Linked DNA regions of Homo sapiens: all the other regions are linked to region 1. The links are contacts of gene promoters, found by promoter capture Hi-C in blood cells and fetal thymus (Javierre and others, 2016). All regions are on one chromosome and are shown on one strand. The core of a region is centred on a gene start or on the middle of the fragment in contact, and the rest is flanking DNA. Distances in the headings are between cores, read along the strand shown.

Evidence for each region. Contacts are between HindIII fragments. The CHiCAGO score rates a contact against its expected background, and 5 or more counts as called.
Region 2: a contact is called between a fragment that was not itself captured here and the fragment with the promoter of C11orf16 in region 1, in 1 of 17 cell types (M2 macrophages). The highest score is 6.2, in M2 macrophages.
Region 3: a contact is called between a fragment that was not itself captured here and the fragment with the promoter of C11orf16 in region 1, in 1 of 17 cell types (M2 macrophages). The highest score is 5.3, in M2 macrophages.

The regions. Positions count from the first base shown.
Region 1 is chr11:8,930,841-8,935,391 of GRCh38, reverse strand. It overlaps C11orf16 (chromosome 11 open reading frame 16), which reads left to right and starts at 2,445. Exons shown (of 7, transcript NM_020643.3): 1 at 2,445-2,491; 2 at 3,066-3,250. The coding sequence starts at 3,084. RefSeq lists an enhancer at 1,988-2,826. The HindIII fragment of the contact is 4,544 bases long and covers 343-4,551 here.
Region 2 is chr11:9,137,471-9,142,021 of GRCh38, reverse strand. DENND5A (DENN domain containing 5A) reads left to right here. Exons shown (of 23, transcript NM_015213.4): 22 at 1-82; 23 at 2,168-3,197. The coding sequence ends at 2,351. Among named protein-coding and RNA genes, the nearest start is that of SCUBE2, 48 kb to the right of the region's middle. RefSeq lists enhancers at 2,706-3,000, 3,814-4,003. The HindIII fragment of the contact is 1,904 bases long and covers 1,192-3,095 here.
Region 3 is chr11:9,111,113-9,115,663 of GRCh38, reverse strand. LOC105376542 (a long non-coding RNA gene) reads left to right here. Exons shown (of 4, transcript XR_007062585.1): 3 at 2,178-2,265; 4 at 3,407-3,826. Among named protein-coding and RNA genes, the nearest start is that of SCUBE2, 22 kb to the right of the region's middle. The HindIII fragment of the contact is 524 bases long and covers 1,721-2,244 here.

The sequences.
Region 1 (4,551 bases), core at 1,196-3,695:
GGTGAATATCTGTTGTCACTGTTTTCTTATTCCAATCCCGTCACCTGTGTCTGGGTTATTGGTAGCAGTCTCCTGTCTGGCCTCTTGGGATGCGTTCTCAACAGGCTCCACCCTCACTCTCTCTGAAGGTATTTCATGTCACTTCATCGCTTAAGCTGCCTGATGACTTCCTTCTGAACGCCACCTTGTTTAAATTTATCAGCTTAGTTTTCAAAGCTCCCTACTGCAAAACAAAGCAGCAAACATAAGAAGCCGTGTTTTCTCATTTCTCCTTGCCAGCAACATTTCACAAAGCCCCTGACTCTTACCGCAGGCAGCTCTTTCGCTCTTCAGAAAGAAGCTTTGAAGACACGACAGGACAGAGTACACGCCCCTCTCCCTCCTCCACCCCGTCATCTCCTGCCTGAGTCACTACATTCCTTAAAAGATAAATGACCCGAGTTTTGGCCTTTTCCTATATGTAAGATAACATCTGATGGGATTAGCGATGATGCCTCTGTAATCTATAAGCAGGATTACTCTCACACCCACACTCTGATGTGAGTCTGCTTTAATGTGACTCCTAAGCAAGTTCAATGTGATTTTGCATGTGCTGAACCCATTTCCCCCAAACAGAAAATCACAGTCTCGCAAATGTATCCTTCTCTCTTCTCTCTTACTTCCTACCTAAACTAGAATATTCTCCTTTTCCCCTCCTCCACTGAAATCCCACTGTCTCATTCAAGAATCATTCTTTCACTGCCAGAGACTTCACGGGTATTTTTTAATTTATTTTTTATTTTTTGAGACAGAGTCTTTCTTTGTCACCCAGGCTGGAGTGCAGTGGCGCGACCTCGGCTCACTGCAACCTCTGACTCCCTGGTTCAAGCGATTCTCCTGCCTCAGCCTCCCGAGTAGCTGGGATTACAGGCGTGTGCCACCATGCCCAGCTAATTTTTTGTATTTTTAGTAGAGACGGGGTTTCACTGTGTTAGCCAGGATGGTCTCGATCTCCTGACCTCGTGATCCACCTGCCTTGGCCTCCCAAGTGCTGGGATTACAGGCATGAGCCACCGCGCCCGGCCATGGGTCTTTCTTAGACTCTCTGTGTGCCAAATAACTCCGCCTTGGTATACGGTCCTGGGCAGCAGTCATTCTCCTGACTATGAAGTGATGCTTCGGGAGGGCAGTCATCAGTTAAGAGGCTTTTGGTTGCAAGTAAGAAACAGCCCAATCCAGAGTGGCATAATCAATAAGGGGAATTATTGGCTCACAGAGCTGAGGCCTAGAGTAGCAGCACTGCCTGCAGGCAGGACTCAGTACTGTCACCGAGAACCTATTTTCAGCTGGGCGTTGGGGTGCATGGCTGTAGTCCGAGCTCCTTGGAAGACTGAGGCAAAAGCATCCCTTGAGCCCAGGAGTTTGAGGCCAGCCTGGGCAACCCTGTCTCAAAACAAACAAACCAACCAACCCTCTATTTCCTGAGGTCTATCCTCTCTTTCTCTGGGAATAGCTTCAGTGTTCCCAAAAGGCTGTCAGAGGCTCTCAGAACTATCAGCTTTCTTATTCAGGCATAGGAAGAAAGAGAAAGCCTATATCCCAGGATTCCCAACCAAAGTCTCCAGATTCCTGCTGATTGGAGAGGTTCAGGAACACGCCACTGCCTGACCAACCCCTGGGGCCAGACGGGGATGGAAGGGGTGACTGACACCCACTCTACCCCTGGAGGTGGGTACTTTGGCCTCCCTATCCACATGGATCTGCCAACTGAAACAGGACCTGGTAGAAGCGGGGTATGAATGTGGGGGAGACACATCCAAACGTGCCTGCATACCAGGCATATAACCAGTGCACAGTGACTGGCAGAGGCCTCCAAATACGAGCCCCTCCCACAAGCAGAATCTGGACTTCTGTTCCTTTGTTGCCAGTGTCCACACCTCTCACTCCAAATGGTCACAACACCTCTGCTCCTCAACAGAGTCCTGCCTGTTATAGACAAACAGGCCCACACCTTTGGTTATTTTGGTTTAGACTAGGGACAAATTCTATCCTAGAGTCCCCAGGCCGCCAGTGGCTCCCCCATTCCTGCCTCTAGTGTGTACAGGGAGGACGCCCTCAGTTTCTGCGGAGGTGGCTCCTCCCTCACAGGAGTCTCCTGGGATCCGTGAGGGCTTCCCACCACCACTGACTCTTCCAGCAGTGGAGCAGCCTGAGCTTTGGAGAACTGAGGCTACACTGGCCTTTTTCCCTTCTTCCTCCTCCTCTTCTCTCCAAAGGGAAACCTGGAGAACACCCCCTCCCCCATCACTTCCTGCCCCACCCCTACCTCCCAAGGCCTCCTGTCCCCCTCTCCGCATGCTCGGTGCACTCACTGGCCACAGACGACAGCGTCCCCAGGCTGCACCCATGGTAACCGGCGTGGCAACCAGGAGTCGGTTGGGCTGAGACCCTGAGCCCCAACTGTCAGAAGGAGCCTGAGGCTGAGGTGGAGGCTGGGAGTTTGGGGCTGTGGGTAAGTCCTTGTGGGGTCAGACCTGTGGACTTGGGCAGGGGCAGACCCTCACGGGGCTCTGGTGGGCTGCAGCAGTGCGGCTTGATCTTGGGCCCTGGTGGCAGCTGTCTCCTCTGAACAGGGCTGGAAAGGGGATGGACGGCCCTGAGATCTCAGCTTGCCTGAGGCCAGAACTAGCCTTGTAGGTGGCCGGGGAGGAGGAAGGAGGAAAAATACTAACATAAGTTGAGCTGCTGAATACGCCAGGTGCTTTCCATGTATTCTATCCTGAGTGTAACTGGAGAGCAGAGGTTAAGTGAGCACACAGCCAGCAGGCTGTAGGGGAGGATTTAAAGCTGGGCTGCTCTAAACTCACAGCACTTGCTCTTCCAATCCCTTCCCTGTTTCCTGAGTGGAGGTTCCCAAGGCAGGTGACTCAAAGAGGAAACTGTGAGAGTTTGTGGGAGCAGGTAGGGCCGTGCATGGACTCAACTGTCCCCAGAGGCAGCTAACTGCAGAGCTGAGCCCTGCCTCGCCCCGGTGGCCACTGCTTGCTTCAAGCTGCAGCTCAGGTAATGGTGGTGCCTATTCTCAGGTGGATCCTCTGAAGGCCATGGAATCCTCCACGGGGCCCAGGATGCCTTTGCTCAAATACTGCAGCGTGGCCACAAGCCTGAAGGCCCCTGGCTGGGACGGTGCTGCTCCACCTTGGGACCTCTCCTTCACCTACCCCTTTGCCCTCCAAGCACCCTGGCTCACCGGGCACAAGCCCCTTGCAAGGTACCTGTCTCTGCCCCTCTGGGGGAAGTGGATGCCCTTTTCTTTTTCCTTTGTTCTTGGCTGTTGGTGGTAGACCTTGGTGGACAGACTTGCTTCCTGAGAAGGTGGAAAGGGGTCGTCATTGTTTGGCCTATGATTGGCATATCTGTGTGGGGTCTGTCACTCCAGCCTACATTGTGCTCCCAGAGCCCTCCAGGGTTGATCTGGCTTTAGCAGAGTTGCAGATGCTGCAGTTGGCATGAGTAAGAGAAGGCAGTTAGGGATAGCCAGTTACCAAGTTTATAGCTCATTTTACCATCAATGCTGAGACTTGGCTGGGCGCAGTGGCTCACACCTGTATACAATCCCAGCACTTTGGAAGGCCGAGGCAAGCAGATCACTTGAGGTCAGGAGTTCGAGTCCAGTCTGACCAACATGGCAAAACCCCATCTACTAAAAACACACAAAAAATTGGCTGGGCATGGTGGCTCATGCCTGTAATCCCAGCACTTTGGGAGGCCAAGGCAGGTGGTTCACCCAAGGTCAGGAGTTCGAGACCAGCGTGGCCAAGATGGTGAAACCCCGTCTCTACTAAAAATATAAAAATTAGCCAGGCATGGTGGCGGGTGACTGTAATCCCAGCTACTCAGGAGGATGAGGCAGAGAATTGCTTGAACTCGGAAGGTGGAAAGGTTGCAGTGAGCCGAGATCGCACCATTGCACTCCAGCCTGGGTGACAGAGTGAGACTCTGTCTCAAAGAAAAAACAATAATTAGCTGGGCGTGGTGGCACATGCCTGTATTCCCAGCTACTCAGGAGGCTGAGGCAGGAAAATTGCTTGAACTCGGGAGGCAGAGGTTGCAGTGAGCCGAGACAGCGCCACTGCGCTCGAGCCTAGGGAACAGAGTGAGACTCTGTCTCAAAAACAAAACAAAACCAAAAAAAAAAAAAAAGAGACTTGCTCAGCCACCATATGAGAAATCAGCTAATGTGGGGTCTCCAGGTCCCTCTTCAGGTTCCCTCGGTACCCCTCCTTTGTCCAGGATTTTCCTGAATAGGATCCTCAGTCTGCTTTCTAAAGCGTGGATACAAGAGGCCAAAGGCACCACAGCCCTATATACACATGTGGAGCGTGTCATCTCCAGGGACTCGCATTCCTGCTGCCTGATCCATTCTGCCCACATTAGGGACATGCCAGCTTGAAAGATCCTTAATGGCTCCCTTTCGTGATCCACCCGGTGGACCATCCTGTTCAAGGCTAGAGTTAAGCATGGGACTTTAGATGCCAACAAGCACAGGAAGGAGGCTGAGGGGGGCTGAGG
Region 2 (4,551 bases), core at 894-3,393, 210 kb before region 1:
GATTTGTCACTGCAATCAACAATACTCCCCGGAACATCGGCAAGGATGGCAAGTTTCAGATGCTGGTGTGCTTGGGAGCCAGGTACTGCAGACCCAGGGCCCAGAGTGCACAGCGGTTAGCCTTGGTGGTGGTGTTGGAGGCCTGGTGCAGTGCAGGGGTGAGGAATGGCTCATCAGGTGCCCTTAGGGAGATGAGGCCTTAGAAGGTTTCCTAGAAGCCCTGAATTTCCTCTGTGTATCGTGTATGGTCACACACTGCATAAAATGTGCTGCGTAACAACATTTGTCAGTGACGGACTGTTTATGGGATGATGGTCCTATAAGATTATACTCTGTTTTTACTGTACCTTTTATAGGTTGAGATGTTTAGGTACCCAAATACTTACCATTGTGTTTTAGTTGCCTACGGTATTCAGCACAGTATTCCTTCATTTTTATTCTTCAGGCTGCTGTGGCAGGAAGCTCCAGGAGAAGTGTAGAAGAGCAGGCCTGGGGGCTGGTGACAGGGCTGTACCGATTTGTAGCTTAGGAGCAACAGGCTAGACATATAGTAGGCTCTACCATCTAGGTTTGTATGAGAACCCTATAAAGTTCGCATGGTGACGAAACTGTCTAATGACACATTTCTCAGACTGTATCCCTGTCATTAAGCAACACGTGACTTATGTGTGTGGTGATCTGTCGGGGTAGGGATGACAACGTGTATGTAACTCGGGGCAGAGGGGCCCCATTTTGAAAGGAAAGATCAAAATCACACCACTGGGGAAGTTTGAAGCAGAGTATATCTAGTTATTCCTTCATTAGACATTTAAATGGCCTTATGGAAGTTGGTAGGAAGACAGCTGAATAAAACGTGGCCCCTTACCATTTATTTATTTATTTATTTATTTATTTTGAGATGGAGTTTCGCTCTTGTTGCCCAGGCTGGAGTGCAATGGTGTGATCTCGGCTCACCACAACCTCCGCCTCCTGGGTTCAAGTGAGTCTCCTGCCTCAGCCTCCCGAGTAGCTGGGATTACAGGCATGCGCCATCACGCCTGGCTAGTTTTGTATTGTTAGTAGAGACGGGGTTTCTCCATGTTGGTCAGGCTGGTCTTGAACTCCTGACCTCAGGTGATCTGCCTTCCTTGGCCTCCCAAAGTGCTGAAATTACAGGCGTGAGCCACCATGCCTGGCCAACATTTAGAAGCTTACTTGTCCTAATTAAATACAGAGCATGGAAGAAGGTTTTGAGGGTCCAAAAATGAAGTGTACATTCATACAATATGCTGAAAAGGTAGAGGAGAAAGATCAGAGAAGACTTCAGGGAGGAGTTGGTATTTAAGTGAGCCTTTAATGGAAGGAAATAACAGAACGTGGCAAGGGCAGTAATAGGAAACACAGTTGAAAGGAGGGTAGGGCCCCTGAGCTGGGACAGAGAAAGATTCTTTTCATATTAGTACAAAGTTGTTTCATCAGGGGACTGAAGTAATATTAATCTGATATTATGGGTGGTATGCATTAGAGTGGACATGATTATTAGGGGCTATTCCTGTAGGTCAGGTGAGAGAGCATGAAGCTCAAATAAACTTAAGGCAGTTTATTCAGGCTGCATAAAGGGAGAGAATTGGCATAGTGGTTAAAAACAGACTCCAGAACCGCATTCACTAGGTTCAGATCTCAAGTTATCCATTTACTAGCCATGTGATCTTGGACAAGCTACTTAACTTCCATCTACCCTACTTTCTTCATCTATAAAGTGGGGATAATAATAGTACCTACCTCATATCACAGGGTTATCATGAAGATTAAATCTCTTATGTCAGTGCCAGCACATGCTGAGTGTTATGTGAGGTTAGTGCTTATTATTATTCCTGGTGGTGGTAGCTGTGGGAGGAGAGAAGCTCTGGGAGACACCAGTGGTGGGGCTGACTAGGCAGGGCGAGGGAGGCAGGGGAGGAGGAGGCTTGGAGGCTCATGACAGGGCTGATTTGGGTCAGGTTTGTTTGGTGTCCTGGAGCTGAAAGACCTCTTTGCCAGTCCCTGTTTGGGAAAGGGGGGTGTGGGGGGCTGTCAGCTTCTCCAGCTTCAGACTTAGTTCATGGTTTCCCCCTTGGCCTTGCACTAACGCTCTCTCTTCCTTTTCCTTTGCCCCTCTGACCTGCCTGGACTGCTCCCGCTCTGCCAGAGATCACCTCCTACACCACTGGATTGCCCTGCTGGCTGACTGCCCCATCACTGCACACATGTATGAGGATGTGGCACTGATCAAAGACCATACACTTGTCAATTCCTTGATTCGTGTGCTGCAGACATTGCAGGAGTTCAACATCACGCTGGAGACGTCCCTTGTCAAGGGCATCGACATCTGACCTCCCAGCACCAGCCAGCAGCAGGACTGAGAAAGACTCACCCTGCAGCTCTGACCTTTTTTCCCAAAGGGACTTAAGCGATTGTGCAGGAGTAGGAGACAAAATGTACACTCACTGTAAAAAGAAAACTAGAGGATTTTTGGAATAAATAATCTATTTTAGAGTTTATTTGCTGATTTGCTTTTTACACACTTTCATGTGAAAGAGTGATAGGGAGAGGGAGCGAGGCTGGTGCCGCTTATTTTGAAGCTGGTGCCCTCCCTCGCCGTGGCCACATGCTGGAAGCCTGAGGCCTCCCTGGACTGAGCCTGTGGCACTGCGTGCGGGACAGTTATGTTTCCTTGCCCCGTCGCATTAATGAGGCCCTTCCACATCATTTTTAAACTAATGTTTTTCTATATTAACATTATTATGGATATTTGGCTTTCATAGGCCACACACAGGTGTGCTGCGCGGGAAGCCCCATGCTCCAATCAAAGGGATTTTTAGTAGTGCCTCTAAGCAAGCACCGATGAGTCAGTCCCACGTATTTTCTTTTTTGTCAGTATTGTTTGGGAAGGAGACATGCCGGGATGTGTCATCGTGCCAAATACCACATTTCCTGTTGGCACAGTTTCACAGAAGTAAACATAAGCATGTTTTAACAGGTTTTTCTTTTCTTTTTTCTTTTTTAAAATGTTTTATTTATTTAACCCGCCATTGTGTGTTTTTAAGTATTTTCTTTTTTTAAGGAAAGGAAAAGCTTGTCACAATCTAACTGGCTATGTTATTATTATTAAATTTATGTTTTGCAACTTAGAAACCAGCTACAGTATGGCCCACTTAATAAAACACCTGAAACAAAAACTGCATGGATCACTGATTTTTATGGAGGTTTATGAGCAGTGGGTGGCTGCGGGTGCAGTTGGGTCCATCTGTGAGGATGGTCTTGTGGCATCACCTCTCTTTACCAGCAGGCTCGGGGTTGTGGCCTGCCCAGGATGCCCCTGAGGGCCTGGGGTCTCCTGGGTCCTTCTGCCCGCAGTGCTAGGAGCCTTCCTAGCTGTTATGTGGCTGATTCACATGGATGCAGACAGGGTTCTTTCCCCACTCCACAGAGGAGGAGACTGAGACACAGGAGGGAAAAGACCCGGCCAGGGGTGCAGAGGTTGTCACTTGACTGAGACAGGATGGGCCCTTTCTTGAGAGGGTAAGGGAGACCAGGTGTGGGAAGCTGGGGGTCGGGGGAAGCTCTTGAAAGAAAGGTTTGCTTTCCTGGGGATGGCAGGTGGGAGACCTTTATGAGAGGTCCAGCTTCGTTCATTTTTATTCTTCAGGCTGCTTTGGCAGGAAGCTCCAGAAGAAGTGTAACGTGATCAAGTCAGGCACCTCAGACCAATCAGTGCCCTCTTTTATGCTTTCCTGGTTTGCATGCATTTTCCCTTTGCCTGGAATGCCTCCCCTTCACCCACTTTGTGTTTGTTGTACAGGGTTTACTTTAGCAGTCACCTGCTGTGAAGTGTCCCCAATCTCCCTAGGCAGTTAATCATTCCATCCTTGTGCTCCTTCATTTTCTTAGATGCTGGCATCTCCTCTCTGGATTGTCATTGCCTGCTTTCGTGTCAGGCTCAGCCCTTGCACCGTGAGCTCCCAGAGGGAAAAGGGGGATCTCTTGCCTGTCTCCATCCCCTGGGCCTGGCAGGTGGTAAATGCTTCTGAAGAGATGAGGAGAGGGCCCAGAGAGCTGCAGCGCAGCGTCCTGCCTGCAGAGGGGGTGAGAGGCCACACTGCAGCCGTCTGCCTGGAGCCCACGGACAGAGCTTTAGTTCTCTCGGAGAAGGCCGAGGAAAGGGGAAGGAAGGTAGGCAGTACCTCTGGAGCAGGAAGTGGGATTCTTGGCTGGGCAAGAAGGGCAGCATGGAACTCAGCTGTATGTGTTTATATTGTGGGCCTAGGCCTGAGCTTACCTTAAGGCAGGTGCTGGGACCAACTATTTCCTTGCTCTTTGTAACAGCTGATCCTACTCACTTTCTACTGTGTTTTGTTTTGTAATCTTCTGCAAATCTGTTTTGGAATGATGTGTGATATAAGAGAACAGACCTGTTTAGTAGCTCAAGATTTCAAGGACATTTGAGTCAACTGCGTTCTTCCGTGTAGGGCCCAGCCAGGCCTCTCCAGTGGTCCTGGGTAAATCAGGTGTGTTTGGTTCACTCAGCAAGCA
Region 3 (4,551 bases), core at 733-3,232, 180 kb before region 1:
GAAATTAAAAGTGCTACTTTAGTGAACATATGAATGATAAGAAAGTCAAATAGCCTTATTGCTGATATGGAGAAAGTTTTAGTGGTCTGGATAGAAGATCAAACCAGCCACAACATCCCCTTAAACCAAAGACTAATCCAGAGCAAGGCCCTAACTCTCTTCAGCTCTGCGAAGGCTGAGATAGGTGAGGAAGCTGCAGAAGAAATGTCAGAAGCTAGGAGAGGTTGGTTCATGAGGTTTAAGGAAAGAAGCCATCTTCATAGTGTAAAAGGGCAAGGTGAAGCAGCAAGTGCTGATAGAGAAGCTACAGCAAGTTATCCAGATCTAGCTAAGATCACTGATGAAGGTGGCTACTCTAAACAGCAGACTTTCAAGGTAGATGAAACAGCCTTCTCTTGGAAGGAGATGCCATCTAGGACTTTCATGGCTAGAGAGGGGAAGTCAGTGCCTGGCTTTGAAGTTTCAAAGGACAGGCCGACTCTCTTGTTAGGCACGAATACAGCTAGTGACTTTAAGTTGAAGCCAGTGCTCATTTACTCAGCCTGTGCTCTATAAATGGAACAACAAAGCTGGGATGACAGCACATCTGTTTATAGCATGATTTACTGAATCTCTTAAGCCCACTGTTGAGACCTACTGCTCAAAAAAAAAAAAAAAAAAAGACTCCTTTCAAAATACTACTGCTAATTGACAATGCACCTAGTCACTCAAGAGCTCTCTGATGGAGATGTACGGGAGATTCATGTTGTTTTCATGCTTGCTAACACAGCATTCATTCTGCAGCCCATAGATCAAGGAGTAGGTGTGACTTCCATGTCTTATTGAAGAAATACATTTCATAAGGCTATAGCTGCCATACATAGTGATTCCTCTGATGGACCTGGGCAAAACGAAAATATTCTATAAAGGATTCACCATTCTAGATGCTATTAAGAACATTTATGATTAATGGAAGGAGGTCAAAATATCAACATTAATGGGAATTTGGGAGAAGTTGATTCCAGCCCTCATGCATGACTCTGACAGGTTCAAGATTTCAGTGGAGGGAGTAATTACTGATGTGGCAGAAACAGCAAGAGAACTAGGATTAAAAGTGGAGCCTCAAGATGTGACTGAATTGCTGTAATCTTATGATTAAACTTGAAGTTGCTTCTTATGGATAAACAAAGAAAGTGGTTTCTTGAAATGGAATCTACTCCTGGTGAAGATGCTGTGAACACTGTTGAAATGACAACAGAAGAGGTAGAAAATTATGTAAACTTAGCTGATTAAGCAGCGGCAGGGTTTGAGAGGATTGGCTCCAATTTTGAAAGAAGTTTTACTGTGGGTAAAAATCCCATCAAACAGCGTTGCATGCTATAGAGAAATCTTTTGTGAAAGAAAGAGTCAATTATGTGGCAAACTTCATTGTTGTCTTATTTTCAGAAATTGTCACAGTTACCCTAGCCTTCAGCAACCAACCACCACCCTGAGCAGTCAGCAGCCATCAATATTGAGGCAAGACCCTCCACCAGCAAAAGGATTACAACTCGCTGAAGACTCAGATGACTGTTAGCATTTTCAGCAATAAAGTATTTTTAAATTAAAGAATGTACATTTTTAGACATTATGCTATTGTACAATAGACTATAGTGTAGTGTAAACATAACTTTTTTTTTTTTTTTTGAGACAGGGTCTCATTCTGTTGCCTAGGCTGGCGTACAGTGGCATGATCTAAGCTTACTGCAGCCTTGACCTATTGGGCTCCAGTAATCCTTCCACCTGTCAGCCTCCTAAGTAGCTAGGACCACAGGCTTGTGCCACCATGCCCAGCTAATTTTTGTAATTTTTGTAGAGACGGGTTTGCCATGTTGCCCAAGCTAGCCTTGAACTCCTGAGCTCAAGCAATCCACCTACCTTGGCCTCCCAAAGTGCTGGGATTACAGATGTGAGCCACCATTCCTGCCCAATCATAACTTTTATATGCAATGGGAAACAAAAAAATTTGTGTGACTCACTTTATTGTAATATTTGCTTTATTGTGGTGGTCTGGAATTGAACCCATAATATCTCTGAGGTATGCCTGTACTTTTAAAAAGTTTCTAAATCCACACTGATACTGTTTGTGAATAATTCATTTTTATCCCTTTCCAACCCTTAGACTTAATTTCTTTTTCTTGTCTTATTGACTTACCTAGGATTCCTAGTACAATGGTGAAGTGATGATAGCAGGTATTCTACTGTGTTCCCTGTTGCAGAGAAGCTTTTAAGTTTTCACCATTAAATGTGAGTTTGCTCTAGGTTTGGGGTAGATATTCTTTATCAGATTAAGAGAATTCCCTTCTACTCTTAGATTGCTAAGCATTATTATCATAAATGGATGTTGACTTTTTTTTTTCTGAGAAGGAGTCTCGCTCTGTCACCCAGGCTGGCGTAATCTCAGCTCACTGCAAGCTCCGCTTCCCGGGTTCATGCCATTCTCCTGCCTCAGCCTCCCGAGTAGCTGGGACTACAGGTGGCTGCCACCACACCCAGCTAATTTGTTGTATTTTTAGTAGAGACGGGGTTTCACCATGTTGGTCAGGCTGGTCTTGATCTCCTGACCTCGTGATCCGCCTGCCTCGGCCTCCCAGAGTGCTGGGATTATAGGCCCGAGCTGCCGCACCCGGCCGGATGTTGACTTTTATCAGAAGATTTTTGTGCCCCTATTGAGATAATTATGTACTTTTTTTCTCTTTTAATAAAGCAGTGTGATTAATTACTTGGGTTGTTTCCTTGGGTTTAATTTGCTGTTCTTTTTCTTATTAGTTTTAGCTTAAGCTGTGTCCAAGACACACTTACACAATCTGTATAATTTCAATTCTTTGAATTCTTCAATTATTTTATTTTCCCCTTCTGTTAGCTTGGTAATTCTATTCCTTTACTCTTCCTTTAGTAGTGACCCATGAAATTATAATATGCACTGGCTTATCAATGTCTAATCTAAATTATTACTCTTTCTCTTTCCAGACAATGTAAGGACCTTTAGAATAACTTCATTTCTTGTCTGGACTTATATGTTACTGTTGTTATATATTTTAATTCTCTCTCTCTCTCTCTCTCTATATATATATACACATATATATATTATGTACAACAATAAATATATGTAATAAAAATATATTGAATATTAAATGTATATATTTAAACCCATTAGATGTTATTACATTATTGTTATTATTTTAAAAATACAATAGTTATCTAGCCTTCCCCCTTTTTTGATGTTCTTCATTAATGCCTGTGTCTAGAATGCCTATATTCTTCTGCTTCAAGAACACCCTTCAGTATTTTCCATTAACAGGGGTTTGCTGGAGTTAAATCATCTCATCCTTTAGAAGGACATGTTAGCTGGGTATGAAATTCTGGATTAGCGCTTATTTTCTTTCAGAACTTTGAAGATATTCCATTGTCTCTGGCTTCTACAGTTTCCACTGATAAGTTACCTGGCAGCCTCATTGTTGTTGTTCCAGTCAAGGTAATCTCTCGATTCTTTACTGTTTTTGATATTGTTTCTTTGTCATTTTTTAAAAATAATTTACTATTATTTGCCTGAATGTGGTATTTATTCAGCGTGGGTTTCACAATGTGTCCTGAATCTGGGGCTTTGTCTTTTGTCAGTTTTAGAAATTCTTCATCCACTATCTCTTTAGATACTGCTTTTTCAAATTTTCTCCCCTGTCCTTCCAGGATTCTGTTTACACATACGTTAGACCTTAGCACTGTATTCTGTATGTCTTTTATGTTCATATCTGTATTTTCAATCCCTTTGCCTCTCCATGAATCTGGTTATTCATTGTGGATATTTTCTTCCAATCTGTTTTCCAATTCACTTTAGCTGCTGCTAAACCCATTAATCAATCTCTTTCTACATAACTCTAATATAGAGTTCAGGTAAGGTTTGAGCAGGGCCCAGTTCTATTTCTCTGAGATTCCAGGCTCTTCCCTCTTCTGTGTATGAGCTTTTTCCTCAGGTTGGCTTCATCCATGGTAGCAAGACAGAAGCAAGGACTACTTGTTTTCTTGATTACATCAAGCAGACATGAGAGTGCTTTTGTGTCAGCAATTCAAGCAAAATTCTTGAATTCTTGCTTCTCATCATGATTCTTCTGGCTTTGTTAACATGCCTGCCTTTAGACCAATGTCTGTGACCAGAAAGATGGGATGTGCTAATTTAATTAGGTTCCACCCCTGGAGCTGGAATTGGGGTCAGTTTTCCGAAGGCATGTGTTGCTTAGAGGAGCGGTAGATATCCGAATGAAATTAATAAATTAAAAGCTGGGCATTGTTAGAGAGAAGGAGTGATGTATACTTACAAGGCAGCCAAATGCCTACTACATCTTCCAGTGAGCGTAATGAGCATAAACTCATGACTACTCTTGGAGCCTATGCAGACAAATAGGTGTTGGCTGAGGTTGCCCCAATTTCCAAGAGAATGACTTTCTGTGATAAATTTGTTTCTCGTATGCCTTTCTGCACTGAGAGCCTGACAAGCTAAAAAATGGCATTTCTAAGCTCCCTCGCAGCTAGGGTTCT